Linked DNA regions of Homo sapiens: regions 1 and 2 are each linked to region 3. Evidence: promoter capture Hi-C in 16 types of primary human blood cells and fetal thymus (Javierre and others, 2016). All regions are on one chromosome and are shown on one strand. Each heading gives the region's core, a stretch centred on a gene start or on the middle of the fragment in contact. The rest is flanking DNA. Distances are from core to core; before and after follow the strand shown. Region 1 overlaps USP22 (ubiquitin specific peptidase 22). Region 2 overlaps LINC02693 (long intergenic non-protein coding RNA 2693). Region 3 holds the start of MAP2K3 (mitogen-activated protein kinase kinase 3).

Evidence for each region. The method cuts DNA at HindIII sites, captures the fragments that hold promoters and counts their contacts. A CHiCAGO score of 5 or more calls a contact.
Region 1: a fragment that was not itself captured here is called in contact with the fragment with the promoter of MAP2K3 in region 3 in 1 of 17 cell types (neutrophils); the score reaches 5.4 in neutrophils.
Region 2: a fragment that was not itself captured here is called in contact with the fragment with the promoter of MAP2K3 in region 3 in 2 of 17 cell types (total CD8 T cells and naive CD4 T cells); the score reaches 5.7 in total CD8 T cells.

Annotation. Positions count from the first base shown.
Region 1 is chr17:21,008,680-21,012,666 of GRCh38, reverse strand. It overlaps USP22 (ubiquitin specific peptidase 22), which reads left to right. Exons shown (of 13, transcript NM_015276.2): 8 at 1,358-1,516. Among named protein-coding and RNA genes, the nearest start is that of USP22, 32 kb to the left of the region's middle. The HindIII fragment of the contact is 2,966 bases long and covers 102-3,067 here.
Region 2 is chr17:21,546,661-21,550,555 of GRCh38, reverse strand. All of the region lies in intron 1 of LINC02693 (long intergenic non-protein coding RNA 2693), which reads left to right. Among named protein-coding and RNA genes, the nearest start is that of LINC02693, 3.1 kb to the left of the region's middle. The HindIII fragment of the contact is 1,002 bases long and covers 1,498-2,499 here.
Region 3 is chr17:21,282,258-21,286,106 of GRCh38, reverse strand. MAP2K3 (mitogen-activated protein kinase kinase 3) reads right to left here and starts at 1,396. Exons shown (of 12, transcript NM_145109.3): 1 at 1,138-1,396. The coding sequence starts at 1,186. RefSeq lists a silencer at 1,408-1,937 and an enhancer at 1,824-2,324. The HindIII fragment of the contact is 5,771 bases long and covers 417-3,849 here.

The DNA of each region.
Region 1 (3,987 bases), core at 335-2,834, 270 kb after region 3:
CCTCTTGGGGAGGTCGTAGGGCAGGTGTCCCCTCGGGATGCGAGCCCTTCGTGTTGAGGTCTTGGCTGTTGTCTACAGCCAGCAGTGTGTTCTTGGAAGCTTCCCCTACCATTTTGCATCTTACAGTCCTTGACCAGGGACCAAGTGAAAGAGCCCTCTTCAAGAAGGCGTGGATCATGCATGGTGGATTGTTTTTCTACGTGCTTCGAAGTGTGTTAGTTTTCATTATTTTATGGTTTCTGGTTCCATTTTCTGATGTAGTGGCCCTAATTCTTCTCAGATGTGGTCTCTGCTTAGAGCCTCAAGTGTTGAGTGCAGGGAGAATCCATTGCTTTGTTAGGTCAGGGGACCCTCTCACCCAACCTCAGTGCATGCTACAGGTTTTTTGTTTTTGTTTTTGTTTTTTTCAGGCATGGGGTCTTGTGTATGTTGCCCAGGCTGGCCTTGAACCCATGGGCTCAAGCGATCCTCCCTCCTTAGCCTCCCAAGTAGCTGGGACTACAGGCATGGGCCACCGTGCCTGGCTCTGTTCTTTACTTCAGTTGAAGTTTAAAAACCCTGGACATGATCCACCGAAATTATTTCAGAACCCGAAATGGACTGTCACTTCTAAACTGCATAAGACGAGCAAATATCGGGAAAGGCCAGTGCTGCCTGTGTCACGGGGGCCATTTTCTATAAGGAGCATAGACCGTTTGGGGCCTTGTCTCTGAGTATTAGAAACCGAGTTTGCTCTGAGCAATTTGGACCTCCTCGCTGTCCCTTAACTACTGAATTCCATTAGTAGGAGATTGTCTCAAGATTTAAATCCTGTATAAATATCGAGAGTAAATTTCCCAGTCTGCAAGTTTTCATTTTTTATATTGTTAAATAAATTTCTAGCAAGGAACTGGCCTTGTGAAATGCAGCATTGACTGTCCAGTGCAGGCCACCGGGCCTGGCCTGGGCACGCTCTGTGAAATGTGCAGGGGTCTCCAGTGTTGCCTAGGGTCACAGGCCCCAAGTTCTAGATGCAGCTGAGATAGACCTGTGGATTCAGAGCCTCTGACAGGGCCCATGAGTTTATCCTCCTCCCAAGTCCCTCAGTGACTGTGATGGTCTCCAGACTGGGAAGTCCTTGCTTGAGGAGCGCCCCTCGCCTTCCGAGTTCACACACACCCCTCCCCAGGGCCACCTTGGGAGCCAGGACACGTTGGGTGTGAGCACTGCTGCTCTTGCTCCTGCCCCATCCCACCTGAGTGTCACTGTGACAAAGGGCACAGCGGGGAAGGGATGTGGGAACGGCTTCCACCCCGGGTTGCCTCTGGAGCTGGGTGGGTGTCAGTCCTCACAGCCATTGTTTTCCCTCTGCTTCCAGTGGAGTCTCCACCACCATCGACCCCTTCTGGGACATCAGCTTGGATCTCCCCGGCTCTTCCACCCCATTCTGGCCCCTGAGCCCAGGGAGCGAGGGCAACGTGGTAAACGGGGAAAGCCACGTGTCGGGAACCACCACGCTCACGGACTGCCTGCGACGGTGAGAGGCCTGCACCCACACGGCGGGGGCGTGTCTCCTGGCCAGAAGGCTGTGCTCCATCAGGACCAAAGCAGGGCTCTTTCACATGCCCAGGACAGAGCCTGGGCAAAGGTGCAGCATGAGCCTGGATTGGCTGCAGTCTCTTGTGCTAGTTTGTCCTTTGTTTTGGCCAGATGACTCAATATTTCTGTCCCCCAGCTTCGCACAGCACCAGGTGTCAGTGTCAGCAGCTGCTACTCCAACCTCCGCATGTAAATGAACCCAGAGCCAAACTGGCTGCTCCCTTAGCCCTTGCACTAATCACCTACCCCGGAGTGTGAGCTGAGATGCGCCCGGGCCTCTCCCCATGGTCCACGGCCTTCTCTGCACATGATTAAAACTTAGTTGTGATGTTCTGTACTCTTAGGGCTGTTTTTGAAATTGTGCATGTACTGCTTCATTTGGGATAAGTAATAATATTTACAAAGTGATTTTTTTTTTTTTTTTTGAGACAGAGTTGTGCTCTGTCGACCAGGCTGGAATGCAGTGGTGCGATTTCTGCTCACTGCAGCCTCTGCCTTTCAGGTTCAAGTGATTCTCCTGAGTAGCTGGGACTACAGGTGTGCACCACCACGCCTGGCTAATTTTTGTATTTTTAGTAGAGCGGGGGTTTTACCATGTTGGCCAGGCTAGTCTCGAACTCGTGATATCAGGTGATTCACCCACCTCGGCCTCCCAAAGTGCTCACAGGCATGAGCCACCACACCTGTGAGTGATTTTTAAAAAAAAATGTATTTAAGTAGCTGTAGCATACAATTGTAAAGACAGCAGAAAACCTTCCTAAAATTTGTCTATTATTTTATAGCCTTTGTTTTATTTGCATCAATTAAAGGTAATGCAGAAGAGTCCTTGTTGAGTGGAAGTATCCCTTAGAAGAGGTACGAGCCTTTGGTTTCTGTCTGGCTGCATAGTCAGCACGACCAAAGTTGCATGTTTATTTTGTTTTTTGAGATAGGGTCTTGCTCTTTCATGCAGGCTGGAGTGCAGTGGTGCCATCATAGCTCACTGCAACCTCGATCTCCTGGGCTCAGCCTCAGTGTCCAGGGCTCAGCCTTGGTCTCCTGTCTCGGCCTCCTGAGTAGTTGGGACTATAGGTGTGTGCCACCATGCCCAGCTGATTTTGTGATTTTTTTTTTTTTAATTTTTTTTTTTTGAGACGGAGTCTCGCTCTTTCTAGAGTGCAGGCTGGAGTGCAGTGGCGCGATCTTGGCTCACTGCAACCTCCACCTCCCAGGTTCACGTGATTCTCCGGCCTCAACCTCCCGAGTGGCTGGGATTACAGGTGCTTGCTACCATATCCGGCTAACTTTTGTATTTTTAGTAGAGACTAGGTTTCGCCACATTGGCCAGGGTAGTCCCAAACTCCTGACCTTAGGTGATCCGCCTGCCTTGGCCTCCCAAAGTGCTGGGATTACAGGTGTGAGCCAGCATGCCCGGCCAACCAAAACCTTTTTAAAGAAAGTCTTTGCAGCTAAATTAAATTTAATCATAAATTCCAATAAAATGAAAGCTTTGCCAAAACAGCAGGCCATGAGGTAGAAACCACACTTCACAAACTACAATGTGTGGGAAGCCTGTGTTGTTAGGAGAGACATGATGTGGTGCTGACTCCCGGGAAGGTGGAGGAGAGGTAGAGTGCACCCGGGTCCCCACTTTGTATTGCAAGCAAAGGCTCCTTTTCGAGTCCTTTGGAGAGCAGATCACAAAGCTAGCAACGAAACAGGTGCAGCTTTGCCCAGAGGCCCCCTCGTCTTGCCCTAGTTAAGATGGCAGAATTTCCAGAGCATAAATAAGGGCTTTCCATACCTGCTTGTGAAAAGAGTGAATTTTTTGCTGGTGTTTCAGCTTCAAAATTTGGCGTGTGCTTTGTTGAATCATCTGTTCTGCAGGTTTTGTCAGTGGCAGCTGACACCTGTGCCAGACACGCTTCTGATGCAGCCCTCCTACCTCCTGCCTCTGCACGGTCAGGAAATTACCTTTCCCAGTCCTCTTGCCTTTTTTTTTTTTTTTTTTTTTTTTTGAAATGGAGTCTTGCTCTTGTTGCCCAGGCTGGAGTGCAGTGGCACAATCTCGGCTCACTGCAACCTCCATCTCCCAGGTTCAAGCGGTTCTCCTGCCTCAGCCTCCTGAGTAGCTGGGATTATAGGCATGCACCACCTCGCCCGGCTAATTTTGTATTTTTAGTACAGACGGAATTTCTCTTATGTTGGTCAGGTTGGTCTTGAACTTCCAACCTCAGGTGATCCACCTGCCTCAGCCTCCCAAAGTGGTGGGATTACAGGTGTGAGCTGCCGCACCTGGCCGACCTCTCACCTCTCTACATTAAACTGCTTATGTTGAGATCATTGTAGATTCACATGCAGTTGTAAGAAGCCTTTAGGTACCCTTTACCCCGGTCCCCCGATGGTGACCTCCTCAGCACTGTGGTGCGA
Region 2 (3,895 bases), core at 749-3,248, 260 kb before region 3:
TATTTAGTTTAAAATGTTGTAATTTTTGAAAGCTCAAACATTATGTCTACAACCATCAGCCAAAAAATTTGAGACAGGTTCTTGCTCTTTTGCCCAAACTGCACCACGAAAGGGGTTCCAGCGATCCACCTGCTTCAGCCTCCCCAGTAGCTGAGACCACAGGTTTGTGCCACCATGCCTGTTAATTTCTAAATTTTTTGTAGAAACTACATCTCCCCACATTGCCCAGGCTGGCCTCGAACTTCTAGACTCAAGCAATTTTCCTGCCTTGGCCTCCCAAAGTGCTGGAATCACAGGCGTGAGTCACCAACCGCACTCAGCCTGAAAAATGTTTTGTGAGATAAATAGCTGCTATACAGTTTAGATATTAAAAACTAAGATGTGTTCTTCCAGGAAAGTTATACTTTCAGATATATTCTGTGTCACATCCTGTATGATGAAATAGATGGCAAAAAAAAAAAAAATCCCATTTAATTTAAAGATGGAAGCTGTAACTTCAAGTAAATTTGGAGCTGAGGAGTCCTTTCGGGCTATGACCCCAGAATTCTGGGGTTCTCTGTACTGATTTTTTGCTAGTGTCCACACACAAGCATTCCTTAATGCTGTGCATTAAACAAATAGACCTTTTTTAACCCCAGGTTTCTCTCCATTTACCATTCTGTTTCTCTGCTCCATGCAACTTCCTCACCTCATGTCCTCTCTTGCACCCACTCCTTTCCAGCTTTCCTCCAAGGTACTTTGCTGAAACGACTTTTATCTCAGTCATTTAGCTGCATTTGACACAGACGATACAATTGAGGAGTTCCACCCTTTCTTCTGGATTTTAGGGACCTTCCCTCCTGGATTCCCTCTCACCTTTATCCTCATCCTCCTGCTCCTCCTCCACCAGATCTCTAGTGATCCTCTCAGAATGATCCCACACAGTCTCATAGCTTTAAATACCATCCATCTGTTGATAACCACTAGGCTTGGGGCCTCTTCCCTGAGGGGAGCACCAAGAGTCATCCCTGACTCTTTTCCCTTCTCCCCCAACCCCCATGCAACCACACAGCAAGTCCTGTGGCTCTTGAGTGCAACCAGCATCCTGATTCACCATCTCCATTTCCACAACCAGTTTCAGTCACCTTCCTCTCCTACTGGGCTACTGCCAAGAATCCTCCAACCTCCCTGCATCTTGTCTTGCCCTGCTACAGTCCAGCCTCCACTCAAGCATCCAGAGTGATCTCTTGAAAATGTTAAAACATGATATAGGCATACCCCCACCCCTGTGTAAACCCTGCCACTATCTACTCATTGCAGTAGAATAAAAGCTCAGACAACCTGGTGCCTGCCTCTTCAGCCTCATCTCCTGCCCTTGCTTGTTCTTGCTATGTGGGTCAGATTTTCTGGTCTCCAGAGCTGAAAACAATCTTAACTGACAGACGTTAGATCATAGACTTTATCTACAGCATAAGGCATGGAAGGAAAAGTCTGAGAGAATGAAGGGCCAGAAAAGCTTGTTTAAAAAAAAAATAAAAAGCACAGGAAACTGGAAACGTAACTAACCTGTATGTATATACTTAAAAGAACATGGTAACAAAATGAACTCTTTAGAAACTGAGCCAACAGACTTGCAAACAAATAGAAATACCTTTGGTCCTACTCTGAAAACAAGAAGAATCCTTAGTGAGTATACAAGAACAAAAATTGTACACATTTCTGGGTCATAATGCAATAAAACTAGAAATAATCAAAAGAGAATTTAAAGATGTTCAGCTTCCTGAAAATGTTAAATTATCCTTTTAAACAAATTAATGCCTGCATCAGGGTGCAAATCCAAAACACAAATACCTTGCCTATAAAAATATATTTTTGCAAACAACAGTGTATCGGGATGTGAGGAGAGAGCTCACTGACTCAAAAGCTCCCAGAGTGACCAGATGTGTTCATGGGAACCGGAGCACTGCCCTGGAGTCATTTGACATCACCTTATTACAAGTAGGAACAGCCATGCTGGGAGATGCTCAGATGCCAGTAATAAGTCAGAGGATTCCCTCCTGAATGGGACCTCCCAGTCCTCTTTGGCACAGGGTTCCAGGCAGTGACCACAAATCCATCGGTGATGGCTTACAAGATCAACCTGCCCTCAGGCAGTGGAGTGGAAACTGGCACTAGCAGCTACAGTGGAAAAAATGAATGGCCTCTAAGAATATGTCATCTGCCCCATGCAAAGATTCTGGATCCCAGAAGTCCTCCTAGTAAGGACTCGGAGCCAGACAACTTCATTTCCTGTCACCTGGGCTGCTCTCCCTCTGACAGCTATGGAAATTGGTGAAGCACAGGAACGTATTGGAAATGGCAATGATGTGCCATGCCAATGTGTGGAAGTGTACAAGTTAAGTAATATTTTAAAAACAGAACACACAACAGTTTGCACAATCCGACCAAAGCTCTGTCATGTATGTTTCTAAACAAGTTTGGAAGAGAATTTGGAAATGGCTGAAATTTTTTTATAAAGCTTATGTTTTTAGTTTGTTTAAATGTAAAAGCATACACTTAGAAACAAGTTAGTATGTAAAAATTTTTAATCTTAGCTATCTGGAAGCTTCAAATACTTAGAATGAGGCATTTCCCAAAGGTATCTGTAACTTGAATTTTACCGTAGTTTGAAAACTCTTGCCCAGCATAATGGCTTACAGCGGTAATCCCAGCACTTTGGGAGGTTAAGGTGGGCAGATCACTTGAGCTAGGAGTTAGAGACCAGCCTGGGCAACATGGTGAAACCCCATCTCTACAAAAAATTTAAAAATTAGCTGGGAGTGGTGGCACTGCTGATAGACACAGCTACTCAGGAGGCTGAGGTGGGAGGATCCTTGAGCCCGGGAGGTCTAGGCTGCAGTGAGCCGTGATCGCACCAGTGTACTTCAGCCTGGGCAACAGTGCCAGACCCCGCCCCCTCCCCTAGAAGAAAGAAAACTATTAGTTCATAGTGCAGTTGATGAAATAATGTACATCCACAAAGAAACAAGCAATCATAATATGTATATAATTACTCAGTATTAAAATATTGTGTATAGTATTACATATATTGAATACCTATAATGAATGGGGCACTGCTTTAAGCACTTTATACTCATTATCCCACAAGAATTCTCTCTCCAGCAGGTCTTAGTATATTCAATTTAAAGGCTAATTAGTAAGCAATATATAGAATTGAATGAGAAACTACTTAAAACATAGAAGGCTCTCGAAAATACAATGTGGAATGAGTAATGCAAGTTACAGAGATACACAGCACATTTATAGAAAGTGTAAAAACTTACAAAGTTAAACAGTATATTATTTAGAGAAACAATATATTATTTAGAGATATTATTATGTAATAAAAGTATAATGAAAGTCAGGGAAATACTTTTTGTAAAGCTTCAGATGAATGATTGTCCCAGATGGGGTTACATTTCAGAAGGGCCAACCATGCAGATGGCTTCAAATGTAGTGGTGCAGGTGATGGGTACAATGTATTTATTTTACTTTTATGTGAGTCTGTGTATGTGTGTGTGTCTGTGTAATTTTGTATGTATAAAATAGTTCGTAATAATTTTTTTTTTGAGTTGGGATGTTTCTCTGTCTCCCAGGCTGGATTGCAGTAGCATGATCACGGCTCACTGCAGCCTTCACCTCTCAGGCTCAAGTGATCCTCCCACATCAGCCTCCTAAGTACCTAGGACTACAAGTGCGCACCACCATGCTTGGCTAAATTTTTTAAATCTTTTGTAGAGATGGGGTCTCACTCTATTGTCCAGGCTGGTCTTGAACTCCTAGCCTCAAACAATCCTCCTGCCTCAGCCTCCCCAAGTGCTGGTATTACAGGGTAAGTTGCTGTGCCCAGCCTAATTTTTTTTTTATTTTTAAACAG
Region 3 (3,849 bases), core at 147-2,646:
GTGCGATTACTTCCAATTTACAGAAAAGGAAACTGAGGCCCAGAGACACCAGGGAGCTTGCTGGGGTGAAGCAGCTGCAGGTTCAGAAAGCCAGGAGGCAGCCCATTCATTACGGCTATGTCCGGTTTGGAAATCTCTCGCACAACCCAGCCTACTGAAACTCCGACGCACCAAAAACATCCTTTCCTCTTCCTGAAAAAAAAAAAATTCCCCTTTTGCCCTCCGAGTTTCATCCTTCCCCCTCCGCATGACAAATCCTGCTGCTGCCACCTCACAAAAATTTCCAGGAAGGCCAGCTACTTGGAGAAGAGCAAATCCCTTGCACAGCCAGCACCCTGGCCTGGCGGCTGGCCCAGATCCCAGGCAGCCAGGACAAGAATAAGATGGGGTGAGAACCCCCAGTGCAGGGAGAAGCTTGCAACTCAAGACAGAGAGAGGCCGGTAGAGAGGGGGCTGTACCTTAGGGAGGGGTGGGAGGACAAGGAAGGTTCCTGGGAGCCCAGGGCTGCAGGACAGGGTGCAGGCCAGCCAGGGAAGGGGCAACATAGGGCCTATAAGGATAAGAAGAGCTGGGGGAGAGAAGGACGGGGAGTTCCGAGCTGGGGTGTAGCCAGAGCACCCGCATAGGGGGTACAGTGAGGTCCGCAACAACAGGAGCACTCTGGGGCCCAGATGGAGACTCAAGTTAAATCCCAACCTGGATACAGCCCTGGGACCCGAAGCTAGAAATGGGACTGGGTGCTGCCCAAGGACCCAGGTGAAGGCCAGTGTGAATCTCACCTGGGTCCCGCTGAGGGAGAAGACTGGGAGAGTTCATGTCCAGGCTGCAGCCATAAGGCCCAAATGAGGTCAGAATGAGGCTCCTGACTTGGATGGGGTGAGCAGAACAAAGTCCTAGTCTGGGTCCAGCCTGGGTGATCTCGGGCCTGAGTGCAGTCCCAAGGCCTAACGTGGGGGTCCAGGTGAGGGCCCAGGCGGGGGCTGGTCCCGGGACCCCGAACAGGAAGGGGTTCCGGGACCGGACGCCGCTGCCAGGTCGAGAACAGGATGGGGTGGGACCAAAGAAAGGTCGGGGTTTGCAGCCCGGCCCCAGATTAGGCGCGGGGTCAGGCCGAGGTCCCGGCCGGGAGCGCCTACCTTTGGACTGGGGCATGCTGGCGGGCTGGCTCGAGGCGGGCGACTCCATGCTGCAAGTGGGTCCTGGACGGCGGTGGAGACTAATCTAGAGGACTGCGGGCTCCACCGGGGCCGAGCACGCTCATGGCTGCGGGCAGACGGCCCAGGCCAGGCGGAGGAGCAGCGGCGGCGGCGGCGGCGGCGGCGGCGACTGCGGCGAGGACTGCGGCGGCGACTGCAGCAAGGACGAGTCCGCGACGGGCGGCGCCGGAGACAGACTGGGCAGCGCCGGGGAGACCCCGGCCGAACTGCGCTGACTCAGGCCCCGCCCCTGCGTGCCCGATTGGTCCTTTCGTTTCCAAGGCCCGTCCTCTGCCTATCAGACGCCGGCCTGTCCCTGCCTGTCAAGCACACGCCCCACCCTCCTTAGGCCCAGGATCCGGGCCCCTCCCGCTCTCTGTCAAGTCCGCCAGCCGCCCGAAAAACCCAGGTCCGGTCAGGCTCCGCCCCCTGGACTAAAGCCGCGCCCCTCGCGCTGCCCGTCAACATGCAAGCCCCACCCACTCCCGGGACCCACTGAGCCCGCTGCTCCCTGCAGGCGCCCAGGCCCAGCCCGGCACCCCCAGACCCGCAGCCCCGGCGGGTGCGATGCGCGGGCGCGTTCTCCTGGGTGCGTCGTCTGGAAAAAACCCGAGATCCCTAAAGGTGGCACGGCTGGGCCTGCCGAAGTGGGCGGGGGTTAAAAGTGCGCTGCTGGGCTGCCTCCTGGCTCTCTGAACCTGCAGCTGCCTCACCCTAGCAAGCTCCCTAGTGTCTCTGGGCCTCAGTTTCCTTTTCTGTAAATTGGACCCGGGTTCGGATCCGAGTCGGCAGCTTTGTAGCGGAACTAGCCTTGGTCAGGTGGTGACACCTGAGCCTCAGTCTACGCATCTGTGAGCGGGCGGCGGTGACAGCTATCTCCCGGCGCTGCTCGCTAACACGCACTGAGGGCCTGGCGCCAGCAAACGTCGCCCGCGCCCGCGCTCCAGGCGCCCGGCCAGGGCGCGGGGTCGGTGGTGAGCTCAGCGATGCCCGGTGACGAGGCAGCACGAGGAGTTTTCGTGGCTGGTTACTGCTGCCCCTGTTCTACACAGGGGGAAACCGTGTCTCAGAGGGAGTGAGGCGGCATGCGGTGCATTTTATCCCGCGAGCCCCGAGGCCCCATCCTGGCTCTCTCCTGGACCTTCGTTCTCTCCTCTCCTCCTAGGATCTCAGTCTGCCCATCTGCATAATGGCTGGATGGGCCAGTCCTCCCTCTGCTCCCACACGGAACCTCGGGGGATTTCAGGAACCGCTGACCAATCTGGCGCTGGGAACAGATGACTCTGGATGTAAAGCCAGGGCTAGTGAAGGCAGAATGTACCAGGCAAAGGTCAAGGGGTCAGCCCCTGGCCTCCAGGCAGACATGTGTACCCTGTCAGGGACCTCACGTGAGGGAAGCAGATTCCACCACCTGCTAGAAAGGCTTGAGGCCGGGCCTGACCTCTGCTTGCCCAGGTGTAAAGTGGGGGTGATGCAGGGCCCCATGCACAGAGTGGGGAGCCACAGGAGATAAGAGGGAAGCCTTGCAGCCATCACCATTCTCTTCCTGCGTCTCCTGTTCACCCTTCCCAGGCAGTGGGATGGAAAATCATGAGTCTGGGGCTCAGATAGGTATGGGTTCCAATACCAATTCCTCCACTTACTAGCTGGATGACCTTAAAGAAGTCACTGAGCAGCTCTGTGCCTCAGTTTACCTATCCCATGGGGACAATAAGGTCTCTGAAAGCGTTTCATGAGTTCAGGAGTGGAAACACCTGGCCTAGGGCTTGGCACTCACTAGGTGCCCAGGAAATGTGAGTTTGAAAACACTGTGGGCTGCCTCCATCCTTGCCATATCATCCCTGGTGACCTGTGCTTATCCGTCTGTAAAATGGGCATCCAGGAGCAGCTTCCTTTCTACCAGAACTGCAAGGCTAGTCCAGCGAGTTTTCTGGGTTCAGGCACTGGCCAACAGCCTTGACTTCTGCACAAGGCCACACTCCGCCTTGTGCACTCTGCTTCTTGGGATGTTCAAGAGTCTCAGTATTGCCCCTCAAATGTGCCAGGGATGGTCCTGCCGCAGCAGCTTCACCCTTGCTGCTCCTGCCCAGAACATTCTTCCACTCAAGCCTCCTGGGGCTGGTTCCCTCTCATCCCTCAGACCGCTTCCTAAATGAACACCCCTAAGAGGCCTTCTCATCATGGTCCCCAGACTGAGGCACAACACTTATGCTGCTGATGTCTTTGTTACTGACTCAGTTTTTAACACAGCTCTCCCTCCAGACCATCCGAGCCTCATTCCCTGCTGTGTTCCCAATGCATAGCCCAGAACCAGGCACATAGTAGGTGCCTGATAAATATTTGAGGAATGAAAAAAGGAAGGAGGAAAGCATCCACAGACCAGGGTGAAGCGACTCCAGTCCCGTGCCAACCTCCTTGGCGGCCAGATGACTCAGACAGGCCCTCGCATACAAGGAGTTTGGGGATTAGTCAGGAGCCCGATAAACAGCTCAGGAATCACAAAACTCCATGTGAGTGCTATAAATAGATGCATGAGCAAAAGTCCCAGGAGGGTGCCTGGGTGATGCAGCCATCTCCATCTGGGTGGGGACAAGGAAGGCCTCTCAGAGGAGGTGATTTTGAGACTGGACTTTTAAGGACCAGTAGGAGCTT